Linked DNA regions of Homo sapiens: region 1 is linked to region 2. The links are contacts of gene promoters, found by promoter capture Hi-C in human tissues and cell types (Jung and others, 2019). All regions are on one chromosome and are shown on one strand. Each heading gives the region's core, a stretch centred on a gene start or on the middle of the fragment in contact. The rest is flanking DNA. Distances are from core to core; before and after follow the strand shown. Region 1 overlaps CNTRL (centriolin). Region 2 holds the start of TRAF1 (TNF receptor associated factor 1).

Region 1 (6,741 bases), core at 572-3,071, 160 kb after region 2:
TGCATGGTGCCAAAATGTTTAGACTCATAGGCATTGGGAACCATTACATTTCTTTTGTTTTTATTATATAAGTGGGTCAAAGGTAGAGGATGGATTGAGGATAAAGGAGAACTGGAAGGAAGGTGGTTCTGAGAGTATCTTAATAGTCTAAGCAAGAGAGGATAAAAGTTGAATCTAGGGCAGTAGCTGTGACGATGGATAGAGACGAATTTCAAAATATTTTGGAGATAGAATCAATATTGTTGGACGATGGAGAGGGATGACTGGAAGATAACTCTATTCATTCATTTATTCAACAAATATGTATTGAGTTCCTGCTAGGTACCAGGCACTATGCTAGACTCGGGAGACAGTGTAAACAAAACAGACAGGCTCTCGTGGAGCATACAGTTCAGAATGGAGACAAATGTTAAGCAAAATGACATAAATGTGTAATTTCAAACTGATTATGTGAGGAAAAAATACAAATTCATTGAGAGTATAGAACCGGGGACTTCACTTCATCTGCCCTGCACTGGAGGCTTTCCTGAAGAAGCAACAGTTGAGCTGATCTCTGAAGGAAGACTACAAATTAACATGGTAAAAAGAATGAGATCAAGCATTATTATTACTGTGAGGAGGCCAGTGTGACTGGAGCCCACAATTGAGGGAACGAATGACAGAGGTGAATCTAGAGCAATAGGGACAGATCATGGGGGACCACCTTGTAGGTCATGGTAAAGATTTCCTTCATTACAGACTGCTGGATTTACTTTTTTTTTTTTTTTTTTTTTTCCTGAGATGGAGTCTCGCTCTGTTTCCCAGGCTGGACTGCAGTGGCGCGATCTAGGCTCACTGCAGCTTCTGCCTCCTGGGTTCAAGAGATTCTGTTGCCTCAGCCTCCTCCCCTCGACCCCAAGTAGCTGGGATTACAGGTGCATGCCACCACACCTAGCTAATTTTTGTATTTCTAGTAGAGACGGGGTTTTGCCATGTTGGCCAGGCTGGTCTCAAACTCCTGACCTCAGATGATCCACCTGACTCGGCCTCCCAAAGTGCGGGGATTATAGGCATGAGCCACCGCTCCTGGACTGGATTTACTTTTTAAATAGATCACTCTGGCTATCTGACTGCAATGTAATGATGGAAGAATAAGGCAAGAGAGCTTGTAGACAGATCAGTTAGAAGCTGTTATAGTAGTTTGATGAGGGCTTGGATTAGAGTGCGTGAGAGTGAAAATGGAAAGAAGCAGACTTAATTTGAGAGGTTATTTGGGAGTAAGAATTAACAGGATTTAGCGATTGACTGAGTATGGGACAAGGGAAGAGGGAGGTGTCAGGAATGACTCCCAGGTTTTTGGCTTATTCCAGCGAGCAGTGTTCAGTATTTAGGGAACACTGGAAGACGAAAAGGAGAGTGAGAGGAGGAACGGGGTAAATAAATTCAATCTGGACTGAGTGTAGGATGCCAATGAGATATCACGTAGGCAATTGGAAATAGGAGTCTGGAGCTCAGAGAAAGATTGGATTGAGGTTATAAATATCGGCTGGGCATGATGGCTCACACCCATATGTAATCCCAGCACTTTGGGAGGCCAAGGCACGTGGATCACCTGAGGTCAGGAGTTCGAGATCAGCCTGGCCAACATGGCGAAACCCCATCTCTACTAAAAGTACAAAAATTAGCCGGGCATGGTGACAGGCGCCAGGAATCCCAGCTGCTCGGGAGGTCGAGGCAGAAGAATAGCTTGAACCTGGGAGGCAGAGGTTGCAGTGAGCCGAGATCGCACCATTGCACTCCAGCCTGGGCGACAAGAGTGAGATTCTGTCTCAAAAAAAATAAAAAATTAAATAGAGTAAACACATGGCATTGGGAACCATGGGTGTGCATTAATTTGTCCAAGATAAGATTAGACAGAAACTAGAAGGGACCAATGAGGAGTTCTGATGTTTAAATTACACTGCAAGGAGGAACAAAAGCCAGCAAAGGAGTCCATGGAGTGGCCAGGGAGGCAGGAGGATACCAGGAGAATGCGGTGTCCCAGAAACCAAAGGAAGAAACTTTGAGGAAGGAGAGAGTGCTCATCAGTATTAAATACTGCTGGTTGCCAAATATTCCAGCTTCCTGCATTCTAGGACCCCGTTATGTGGGTAAAAGGGGCCTTGGGACTAGTTTGGTTCAATAAACAGAACAGGAATGACAACACTTCCAGCTGGAGCATGTGTCAATTCTATCCCCTCTGGAGATCCCTTTTCTCTCTGGCAAGGTCATCAGTGATGTTTGATACAGTGTCTGCTCCATCAGCTTGGAGTAGTATGGGTCCTAGCATTTATGGCCTCTGAGTTTATAACTTTATAGACCTGAAGGTTCTAGAAAGAATAGTTTTGATAACTCTTAAAAATTAATCTTGTTGAATATACTGAAAACTCTTACAGGTTTTGATGAACACCTGGCTTTATTCTTGCAATGAAGAAAGGTTCTCAACAAAAAATATTCTCCAAAGCAAAGATACCATCATCATCTCACTCTCCTATCCCATCATCTATGTCCAATATGAGATCTAGGTCACTTTCACCTTTGATTGGATCAGAGACTCTACCTTTTCATTCTGGAGGACAGTGGTGTGAGCAAGTTGAGATTGCAGATGAAAACAATATGCTTTTGGACTATCAAGACCATAAAGGTATCACTTTTTAATCTAAGAATTGGTCTGACCACATACTTCAAGTAGAGATGGAAAATTTTCGGCTTGCATTTTTGGTCCAACTGTAACATTCTGGTACTAATTTGATCTATTGTTTTTATTAACAGAAATTAAGGACTGTAAGGACAGTTGGAGGATTGAGGTTTCTGGGTGAGGGTAAAGATGTCAGTGGATTCAAAGAGGGAGTTTTCAGAAAGAGGAAGCTTTGTTTCCTGTGGTAGGAGAGTGTCTTAAAACTCATCCCAAAACTTGCCATCCTCTTTGGTTAAGGGGAGGGAAGATCTGTTCACTTCAGAGTGGAGCGCCTTAATTCAGTAAAAAAACGTTATACATACTTGGCCTATGCCAGTCTTCTTATTAGCAAACTGCTTATCTGTGAATGGACTGATTTCCACATATGGGACATGTATGTATGTTCCACTAGTGTTTTAGTTTTTTCTTAAAATCATCTGTTAGTCTAGGAATCTGTTCTCAAAAGTGCATTGTTGGGGGTATAGCTTAGTGGTAGAGCATTTAACTTCAAAAGTAAGTTATTCTTTGGTAAGTCATGAAATAATAGCCATTAAACTCTAATCAGGTTTTATTAGCATTAACAACACTGAGTTTATACTATATCTTTGCTGCAAGTTGGCATATTGTTATTTCTAATTTGATTAATATTTTAGAATGTTATCAAATTTAGAATATTAATCAATTTTCTTTCCAAGAACAAGCCAAGTTAAATTTAAATATCTTTTTATTTTGCACCAAAATAAATTTAATACTAACTTGTAAATAATCTTAGAGAATCTTTGGCTCACAGCCTGGATCTCAACCCAGGATTAATTTTTTCTGACTCGTAAGGCAGGAACCAAGAGGTGATTTACTTTTTAGGGCTACTTTTGTAAAATGTAATGTGGCATTAACAGTCTTTGACAACAATATCCAGGAAAGTTATAAGACCAGATTTGCCATCCATCAAGTGACTGCTCTAGCTCTATAAAATATGTTGTGATTTTCTCTATTTAAAAGTGCAACAAATTTAGAGTTTCTTACCATAAAAAAATAGGAAAAGAGGATTTTTAAGAATTTCAGTGTTTCTGAACTTTAGATTGGAATTTTCTAAAAAAACAAACAACTAAGTATTACCAGTTTATTTTTAAAAACTAACACGAAAATATTGCTGAAAACTTCATATAGTTAAAAGTGCAAGTTTTATATTCCTCTGACTGGATTCAAGTTCTGGATTTGTGCCTTAATTAGCTGTAGGATCTTGAGCAAATGATTTTTTTTAGTAAGTGATGATATTAATAATTTCTATCTCAAAGGTTTGTTGTATAAATTAAATTTTAAAAATGTAAACCACTTAGCCCAAAGCTTGGCACACACCAAATATTTATAGTGTGTATAACCATTATCATCTTTGTATCATTATAGTTACTACATTACAATACGTTATAGTATTACAATACATTAATTGTAATATACAATACATTATAGTTATTACATTATAATACATTATAGTATTACAATCATTACATCATTATTTCATTATAATTATGAAATGCTATGAAGTAAAATATTATTAAAACATTATGATTAGAAATAGCCAGCTTTTTTGGTATATTCATGGCTTAATTTTTGTTTTTGTTACATAACATCAAAACAACTTGTTCTTTGTGATATTCATGTCTTTCCTCTACTGATGATGATCTGTTTCTATAATTTCAGGAGCTGATTCACATGCAGGAGTTAGATATATTACAGAGGCCCTCATTAAAAAACTTACTAAACAGGATAATTTGGCTTTGATAAAATCTCTGAACCTTTCACTTTCTAAAGACGGTGGCAAGAAATTTAAGGTAGGTTACCAACAATTTCTGAGCATAGATACTGTTTTTAACTTTTCTGTGCTTTAATACTGCGAAAAAAAATTATCCTAATGTCACCTAATTTGTGGCAGACCTTTTATTGTTTCCAGTGAATGTTCTAAATCAGAAGTATATGACATTTCCAAATTAATAAGTTTCTATTACTCAATATTCTTACAACATTGACTCTGTAGAGAAGGGGTTGGCAAAGTACAGCTTACAGGCCAGATCAGGCCAGCTATCTATTTTTGTAAGTAAAGTTTTATTGGAACACAGTCACCCTTATTTGTTTACATATTGTCTGTGGTTGTTTTTGCACTACAGTAGCAGAGCTTAGTAGTTGCCACAGACTATATGGCCCGCAAAGCCAAAAACATTTACTATTTGGCCTTTGTATTCGTTCATTTTCATGCTGCTGATAAAGACATACCCAAGACTGGGCAATTTACAAAAGAAAGAGGTTTAATTGGACTTACAGTTTCACGTGGCTGGGGAAGCCTCACAATCGTGGTGGAAGGCAAAGAGGAGCAAGTCACGTCTTACATGGATGGCAGCAGGCCTAAAGAGAGCTTGTGAAGGAAAACTCCCCCTTATAATAACCACCAGATCTTGTGAGACTTACTATCACGAGAACAGTAGGGGAAGGACCTGCCCCCATGATTCAATTATCTCCCACTGGGTCCCTCCCACAACACATGGGAATTCAAGATGAGATTTGGGTGGGGACACAGCTAAACCATATCAGCCTTTTACAGAAAATGTTTGCTAATTCCTGCTCTAGAGTGTTTACAGCTTCATTCATAAACTATACAACATGAACACATTATAATAGACAACTTAATTCCTTTAATTGGAAGAAAAAAACCTTAGATTTCTACCACGTATTATTCACAAAAAGTATTTCCAGAAGGGTGAAGAACTAAATGAAAACAAAGCAAAATGAAAACACCAAGTAACAGAAATGCTATAAAAGTATTAGAGAGAGTATATGAGAATATTTTTAAAATCTTAGAGTGGTGAAGGTCCCCCTAAGCAAATACTAACCCTAGTACCACAAAGGAAAAATATTGACAGATTTAGCCTGCATAAGACTTAAACATTGTGTTTAATGAAAGATGTATTTTAATAAGTTAAAAGAAAAGCAGCAGCCGGGCGCAGTGGCTCACACCTGTAATCCCAGCACTTTGGGAGGCCGAGGTGGGCAGATCACCTGAGGTCAGGAGTTTGAGACCAGCCTGGGCAACATGATGAAACCCCATCTCTACTAAAAATACCAAAAATTAGCCAGGCGTAGTGGCGGGCGCCTGTAATCCCAGCTACTCAGGAGGCTGAGATAGGAGAATCACTTGAACCCAGGAGGTGGAGGTTGCAGTGAGCCAAGATCGCGCCATTGTACTCTAGCCTGGGCAACCTAGATGTTCATACAGCTGGCTTCTTGTTGTTAAGGTCTCAACTTAGTGAGGTCTTCTCTTTTTTTTTTTTTTTTTTTTTTGAGACAGGGTCTCACTCTGTCATCTAGGCCGATGCCCTCTCTTACCACCCAATCACAATTAGTCACCCTCTCCTCAGTCGCACTCTCATTCTTTTAGTCAACAAGTATTTATTTAGCACCAGGCAGTAATGCTAGAGTAGTGAAACACAACGGGCAAAATATATATATTTATATATAAATATAAATATATACATATTTTATAGATTTTTATAGCAAACATGTATTGCTTATATATTTATATATGCTTATATATAAATATATACATATTTTATAGATTTTATAGCAAACAAGATCTTCAGAAAATAAACAGTGCTAAAAAGGAAATAAAGACATCTTGTGACAGAATGCAAGGCACCAACAGGGCAGATTTTGCCCATTGTGTTCACTACTCTAGCATTACTGCCTGGTGCTAAATAAATACTTACTTGTTGACTAAAAGAATGAGAGTGCGACTGAGGAGAGGGTGACTAATTGTGATTGGGTGGTAAGAGAAGGCATCAGCCTAGATGACAGAGTGAGATATAGATAGATAGATAGATAATATATATCTATATATATATAATATATATCTATATATATAATATATATCTATATATATAATATATATCTATATATATAATATATATCTATATATATTATATATATCTATATATATAATATATATCTATATATATAATATATATCTATATATATAATATATATCTATATATATTATA
Region 2 (6,322 bases), core at 3,273-5,772:
ACAAAGAGATTGTCATCTTTTTAATTTTACTTAGCAAAGGCTTTGCCAAAAACTATCATCTACGATTACATCCTTTCATTTATATAAAGACATGCATAGGACAGACGCAATCTCAGAGTAAAAGTTTGGTTTTATAAATGGAAAGAATTTAGTTTACATAAACTGATTTATAGAATTGCCTTATTTTTATCATTTTGTCATGAGCTGGTGGGAATGGATCAGTTCTGGATAGCATGTGGGAACCTCTGAGCAGGACATGTAACCTATGAGGGTCCTTCCAGCTTGGGAGGGCCAGGGTTCTAAATTGTAGCTCCTGAAAATGTCTCTCTGGCCTATCACACTTCCAAATGTGTCTCTTATTCCTAGAAGCACCGTTTGACAGAGCTCAGGACGTGAGCTGATAATGGTCTCTCCCCACCTAAAGGCAAACAGAGGCAGACAGAACCATCTAGATGAGGAGTTTGCTAACCTTTTTTATGTAAAGGGGTGGATAGTAAATATTTTGGGCTATGAAGTCTTTGTTGCAAGTACTCAATTTTATATAATTTTCATGTGTCCCAAAATATCTTTTTTTGTTTTTTTGAGACAGGGTCTCATTCTGCTACCCAGGCTGGAGTGTAGTGGCACGATCATGGTTCACTGCAGCCTCGACCTCCCCAGGCTCAGGCGACTCTCCTACCTCAGCCTCCAGACTAACTGGGACTACAGGCATGTGCCACCATGCCAGGTTAGTTTTTATATTTTTTGTAAACATGTGGTTTCATCATGTTGCCCAGGCTAGTATCAAACTCCTGGGCTCAAGCTCTCCGCCCACCTCGGCCTCCCAAAGTGTTAGAATTACAGGCATGTAATTCTATGTAATTTGAATTCTAACACTTCAGAATTACAGGCATGTTTGTCATTTACCAAGGGGTTTATATTTGTTATTATAAGAACTTTTTTGATTATTATTGATTGGGGCTCATAACAATTCTGTGATGCAGAAAACAGTTTTACAGACAAGCAAGCTGTGGCTTGAGAACATTAGCAGTGCAGCAGGCCACACAGTGAGAGAGTGGCCTCACAGCCTCGAGAATTACAGGTCATTATGCATGGCCTATCATTCTTCTGATTTTTTCAACCATTTGAAAATATAAAAACCACTCTTAGCTCGTTGCTTAGGTGGTGGGCCAGAATGTGGCCCATGAACCGTAGTTTGTGGACCCCTGGTCTGGACTGTTCTCACTCTAAGTCTATTGCCAGGTAGCTTTAGGCAAGACACTTCACCACTGTGAACATCAGTCTCCTTATTCCTTATAAAGCAAATTCAGTCTGGACTCAGGACTAGTTGGGAGGTGCCTGCCAGGGGTGGAGTGGGCAGCTGTCTACTTGGCTTCAACCTGGAAAAATCAAGACAACGGACAAATGCCTTTCTGTGATGTGCCAACGTACCTTCTCCTGAGTTCGAAGACGGCTTCCTGGGCTTATAGACTGGAGGTCTTCCCCTCTGCATTTGGGGCAGATCTGATCCTCGCCATTCCTGGGGAAACATGGACAAAGCCTTGGAGAGAGGCACTACAGCTCCCTGCACCATCCACTCTCCTGACAGCTCCAGAAGCCTCAACTATCAGCAGGGTGGTGATCATGTACGTCCACAATCCCAGAGCCACAGTTCCTAAATCGCAAAACTGCCGAGTATCCCACATTTTTTGGTAGTTTGCAGTGAGCTTCCTGGGCTGCCAAACCTGCCGTGACTGCACTGACCGGAAGCTATTATAGCCCTTACTTGCCCCACTTAGTGTGAATATATACATGTTTCATTGCAGAAACATTAATGTGCTTGATTACAGGGCACTGCCGCATTCCCTGCCACAATTACATGATGCCCTGATTTGCTTTTCTAAAAAAAATTCTGAATTACAAAACACATCTGATCTCAGGGGTTTAGGCAAAAGATTGCTGACATGTGACTATATTTGCTCTTCTCATTTGGTCCTCCATTTGGTTTTGGTCTTATATGTTTAGTAATTACAGAGGATCATGGCCTATTAGAACAAGAAAGGGCCTCAGAGAACATCTGTCCTAGAGGTTCTTAATCAGGAATGGGTGTCAGATTCTAATGGGTAACACCTGGGTACCCGTGGGTTTTTTGTCTGTTTTTTGGGGGTTTTTCTTTTTTTGAGACAGGGTCTTACTCTGTAGCCCAGGCTGGAGTGCAGTGGTGCGATCTCAGCTCACTGCAACCTCTGCCTCCCAGGTTCAAGTGATTCTCATGCCTTAGCCTCCCAAGTAGCTGGGATTACAGGTGCACACCACCACACCCAGCTAATTCTTGTATTTTTAGTAGAGATGAGGTTTCACCTTGTTGGCCAGGCTGGTCTCAAACTCCTGACCTCAAGTGATCCTCCTGCCTCGGCCTGCCAAAGTGCTGGGATTACAGGCATGAGCCACTGCGCCTGGCCAGCAACTGTGTTTTTACAAAGCTCCTGGTGTCTCTGACCTGCTACCGCTACCGAGATAGTCTATTTTACAAGTGAGGGAATGAGGCCCCAGAGGGCATGTGGATTGGTCAAGGTAGAGTGAGTCAGGAGCAGAGCTGAGTAGAAGCTCTTCAGGACTTAGGCCTCAGGCCTCAGCCCTCCAACTTCCAATCAGCTCCCTCCTCTGCCAGGTTTTGGAAGGAGGGAGAGGGGAAACCAGGAGACCCACTACCAGAGCCTGAGCTGAACCCTGACAATCCGCTTGATGGTAAAACCAGTGAACCTCTGCTCCTCCACCTCCTGGCTGGCCTTTCCACGGCCACAGCCTCTCCTCGCTATTCTCACAGCCTCCTCCTTTGTCGTCATGTTTGAACTTCTCACTTGCCTGATTCAGCTTTGCCACCTTCTTAAGCTGTAAAACCGCAAACAAAAGGTCATCACATGAGATAGTTTAAGGGCATATTTGCCAGGAAACTGACCAAAGCTGACCTAATCTGTTAGGCCTCAGTGTTCTCATTTGTAAAATAGGATCATAATAGTATCCACCCCTCTAAGTTGTGCTGAGGACCCAAGGGCAGAGCATTTGGCACACAGTAGGTGCATAATTGCTTAAAGAGGGATGTCCACAATAGTACTGATATCATGCCTTTCTGGGTTGTTAATATTTTAAGTATCATTAAATACACAAATATATATCGATCTCTTTGTCCCCTCCAAAAGGGTTCCCAGCAAACGGTCTGAGGTGATGAGCAATGCTGTGGAAGGAGAGATATTCGTCTAACAGTTTGTCATTCACCAAGAGGTTTATATTTGTTATTATAAGGACTTTTGTGATTATTATTCATTGGGCTTCATTAACAATTCTATGACACAGAAAACAGCTTTACAGACAAGCGAGCTGCGGCTTAGGGACATTAGCAGAGCACCAGACCACACAGTGAGACAGTGGCCTCACAGCCTCGAGGCTCTCCTCGGTGTGGATGGCTTTCCCCTGTGGGAGCTGATGCCTTTCTGTGGCTTCCTCTCCTTCCACCACAGCCAGAGGGGCAGTGTCAGGGAGTGTGAGAAAAGGGTGTGGAAACTGAGGCCCAGAGAAGAAAAGTCACCGCCTGAAGTCACAGGCTCCTCTGCCCCTCACCTCCCATCAGGGGTCCCTCCCTGGCACCCACTTTCTGCCCACCCTCCGCTCCTCCATCACCTCACCTCGGGTTCTCAGAGAGACAGCCTGCACAGCAGAGAGCCCTGGGCTCCTTTGGGTCCTGGCAGACGGTGGGAGGGCACCCAAAGGGAAACTCATTCTCATCAGGGGCCGGGCGAGGACTGCTGCCTGAGCTGGAGGCCATCTCAGGGTTCCAGGCTGGCCAGAGGGCCTGTTTAAGTTGCTCCAGGGCAGGGGACCAGCCTTGTGGAGTCCTGGCCTGGGCCTCACTCTCTGGTGAGTAGGAGCTCTGATGACTTTATCTTCTTCTCTCTGGCTTGTGTGGTTCAACGTCACAGCTGAGTCACAGCAGGGATGGAGCAGGAATTACCCTTTGTGGCGATAAAAATCCCCTGGATGGTGACTGAAGGCTTTAGGAGTGTCCAGTCATTTTTTTTTTTTTTTAGAGTGAGAAAAAGCAAGAGAGCAAGTCAGAGAAAATGACCCGTGTCACAGACTCTCAGAAAGCACAGTGAGAGTTCCCCTGGTTGAGAATCGCAGGCTGCCGCTGGCTTCCCCCACTTCCCTGGGCACATCGGAGGAGGGGGCCACAGCTGGTCCCTGGTCTGTGTTCCCTGGCACCTCTGAGCAGCCTGGAATTCTCAGTGGGGGTGCTCACCTTCCTGGTGGAAATCCCCAGGGTGTTGGAGACAGGTCCAAAATTTCAAGTTCTAGGCGCTTTTGCTCTGCTCTGTTTGGAGTGTCTGGGTGACCTCAAGGAGAAGTCACTTCCTCACAGTGGGTTCTGATGACTCCATCTGTAAAAAAGAAGTTGCAACAGGTGGCCTCTGGGCTGTAAGATTCTGGGACCCTATCTTGCCTGGGACTGAGGCAACCAGAAGGAGCAGGAAAGCCCTGATGAAATCCAAGGCCTAGGACCACAGACTCCTCAGGGCCCTCCCCACACCACCCCACTCAGGAAGTCATAGGTGGCTACATGCTCCGGTCAGGTGCCACCACTTTACTGCCTCAAGGAGAACAAAGCGCTAAACAAATGCAAGATCACAGCAGCTGGTCTCAGCATCCAAGTGGGATGTAGATCCACATTTGCAGGAAAAGTGCACTGGGGAAACGATGGCTCCCAGAATGTGTACTGTGTGCTGGGCAACAGTTTCCCTCCAAATCCTTACAGCAACCTGCAAGGAATTCTTCTGCAGCTGTATATAGGGTCAGAGAAGCAAGATGCCTGGTCCAAAGGCACACAGCCTCTGGTAGTGGAGTGGGATTCACACCAGGGCTGTGGGGCCCCAAGCTCTGTGTGCTTGGGATGGAGATCAGAGTACCCAGCTCTTGTCTCATCTATCAAATGGAGAAGACAATCCCTACACATCTTTCCATCCTGCTTGGCTGCTACAGAGGTTTTGCAAACTTTCACAGTGGTTTCAGATCATGGGTTTTGAGGTCAGACAGAGCTGAGTTGAAATCCTGGGTCCACTGCTTACTAACTGTGGGCCCTGGGACAAAGTCCTTAACTTCCCTGAAACTCAGATTCTGCATCTGTAAAATGGGACAATAATACCTATTTCACCCATTTGTTGTGATGACTAAATGAGATAGTGGGTCAAAGTGTGGTGTGTAACCCAAGTGAAGTACTTGAATGACATTTGGCTCAGATGGTGACTACAGGCCTTCCAGCTCCTCAGAGAAAAGGATTAAAGTGGTGCATTATGCTTATACTGTGCTTTCACGTCTATCTACTGGAGCCTCAACAGGTGGGCAGGGCAGGTCATCTGGCCTGAGATACATTAAACTGCCCACCTGCCCTGGTGTAACACCAGGGCTGCCACAGGCTGGTGGCAAAGACAGCACGGCATCTTACCGCCACAATGTACATCAGGACCTCCACCCCCATAACAAACGACCTCCAGGCCTGCATCAAGACTATCAGAAGACACTCCCTTTTAACTGTGTACCCCATACCTGCAAGCTTTCCTGCAGCCAGCCCTACCTGTTCCCTCCTTCCCCTGGTTTGGGATAAAACAGGCACCCAAGACTTCTCTCCCCATCTGTGGGTCCCTTCTCTCCCCTCCGGCCTCAATACCACCCTCTCTACCTGCTCATTCCCACGGACATCAAAACGTGCGCAACCTGCTCTAATAAGAAAAGGGAAAAATAGTACTACTTTTGGGTACCGTCTTACGTAATTTTACAGACATCATCTCATCTAATTTTCACTCTGTGAAGCAGGTATTGCCATCATCATCCCCACCTTACAGATGAGAAAACTGAGGCACAGAGAGGCTAAGCGACTTGTTCAAGGTCTCACAGCTAGTGAGTGGGGACCCCTGAACCCAGAGCCAGTCCTGTAACCACGCACGCTTTTAAAACACTCTTTATTCTCGTCTCCAATTTCTACATCTACTCTCGCCTCACCTAACGGTAGAACTTCTAGAAAAGATTGTCTATACAGGCACTTGGATCTCCAGGGAATCATCTCTCCAAGTGTATACGCATGTCGGGGACGCCAAATGCCCTGGGCCCGCCCCAGTTTCTATCCAACCAGCCCTCCTGCCAGCACCTGACCCGGCTCTCAGCCCTTCCTTCCGGAATCCCTTCCTTTCCCCGGCTTCCCGCATCCTCTGCGGGGAATTCCCCCCGCGTCTCTGGTGGCTCCTTATCCGTCTCCTTGACCCCTTTCTCTTCTACACTGGGCCTCCATCGGCTC

The links. The method cuts DNA at HindIII sites, captures the fragments that hold promoters and counts their contacts. A contact is called where the count stands out against the background at its distance.
Region 1: a fragment that was not itself captured here is called in contact with the fragment with the promoter of TRAF1 in region 2 in 1 of the 25 tissues and cell types used here (adrenal gland).

Annotation. Positions count from the first base shown.
Region 1 is chr9:121,085,882-121,092,622 of GRCh38, forward strand. CNTRL (centriolin) reads left to right here. Exons shown (of 44, transcript NM_007018.6): 3 at 2,415-2,662; 4 at 4,394-4,524. The coding sequence starts at 2,446. Among named protein-coding and RNA genes, the nearest start is that of CNTRL, 14 kb to the left of the region's middle. The HindIII fragment of the contact is 3,281 bases long and covers 182-3,462 here.
Region 2 is chr9:120,922,274-120,928,595 of GRCh38, forward strand. TRAF1 (TNF receptor associated factor 1) reads right to left here and starts at 4,523. Exons shown (of 8, transcript NM_005658.5): 1 at 4,277-4,523; 2 at 3,663-4,028; 3 at 1,432-1,519. The coding sequence starts at 3,802. RefSeq lists enhancers at 3,152-3,675, 3,272-3,341, 3,802-4,141, 4,482-4,801. The HindIII fragment of the contact is 9,494 bases long and covers 149-6,322 here.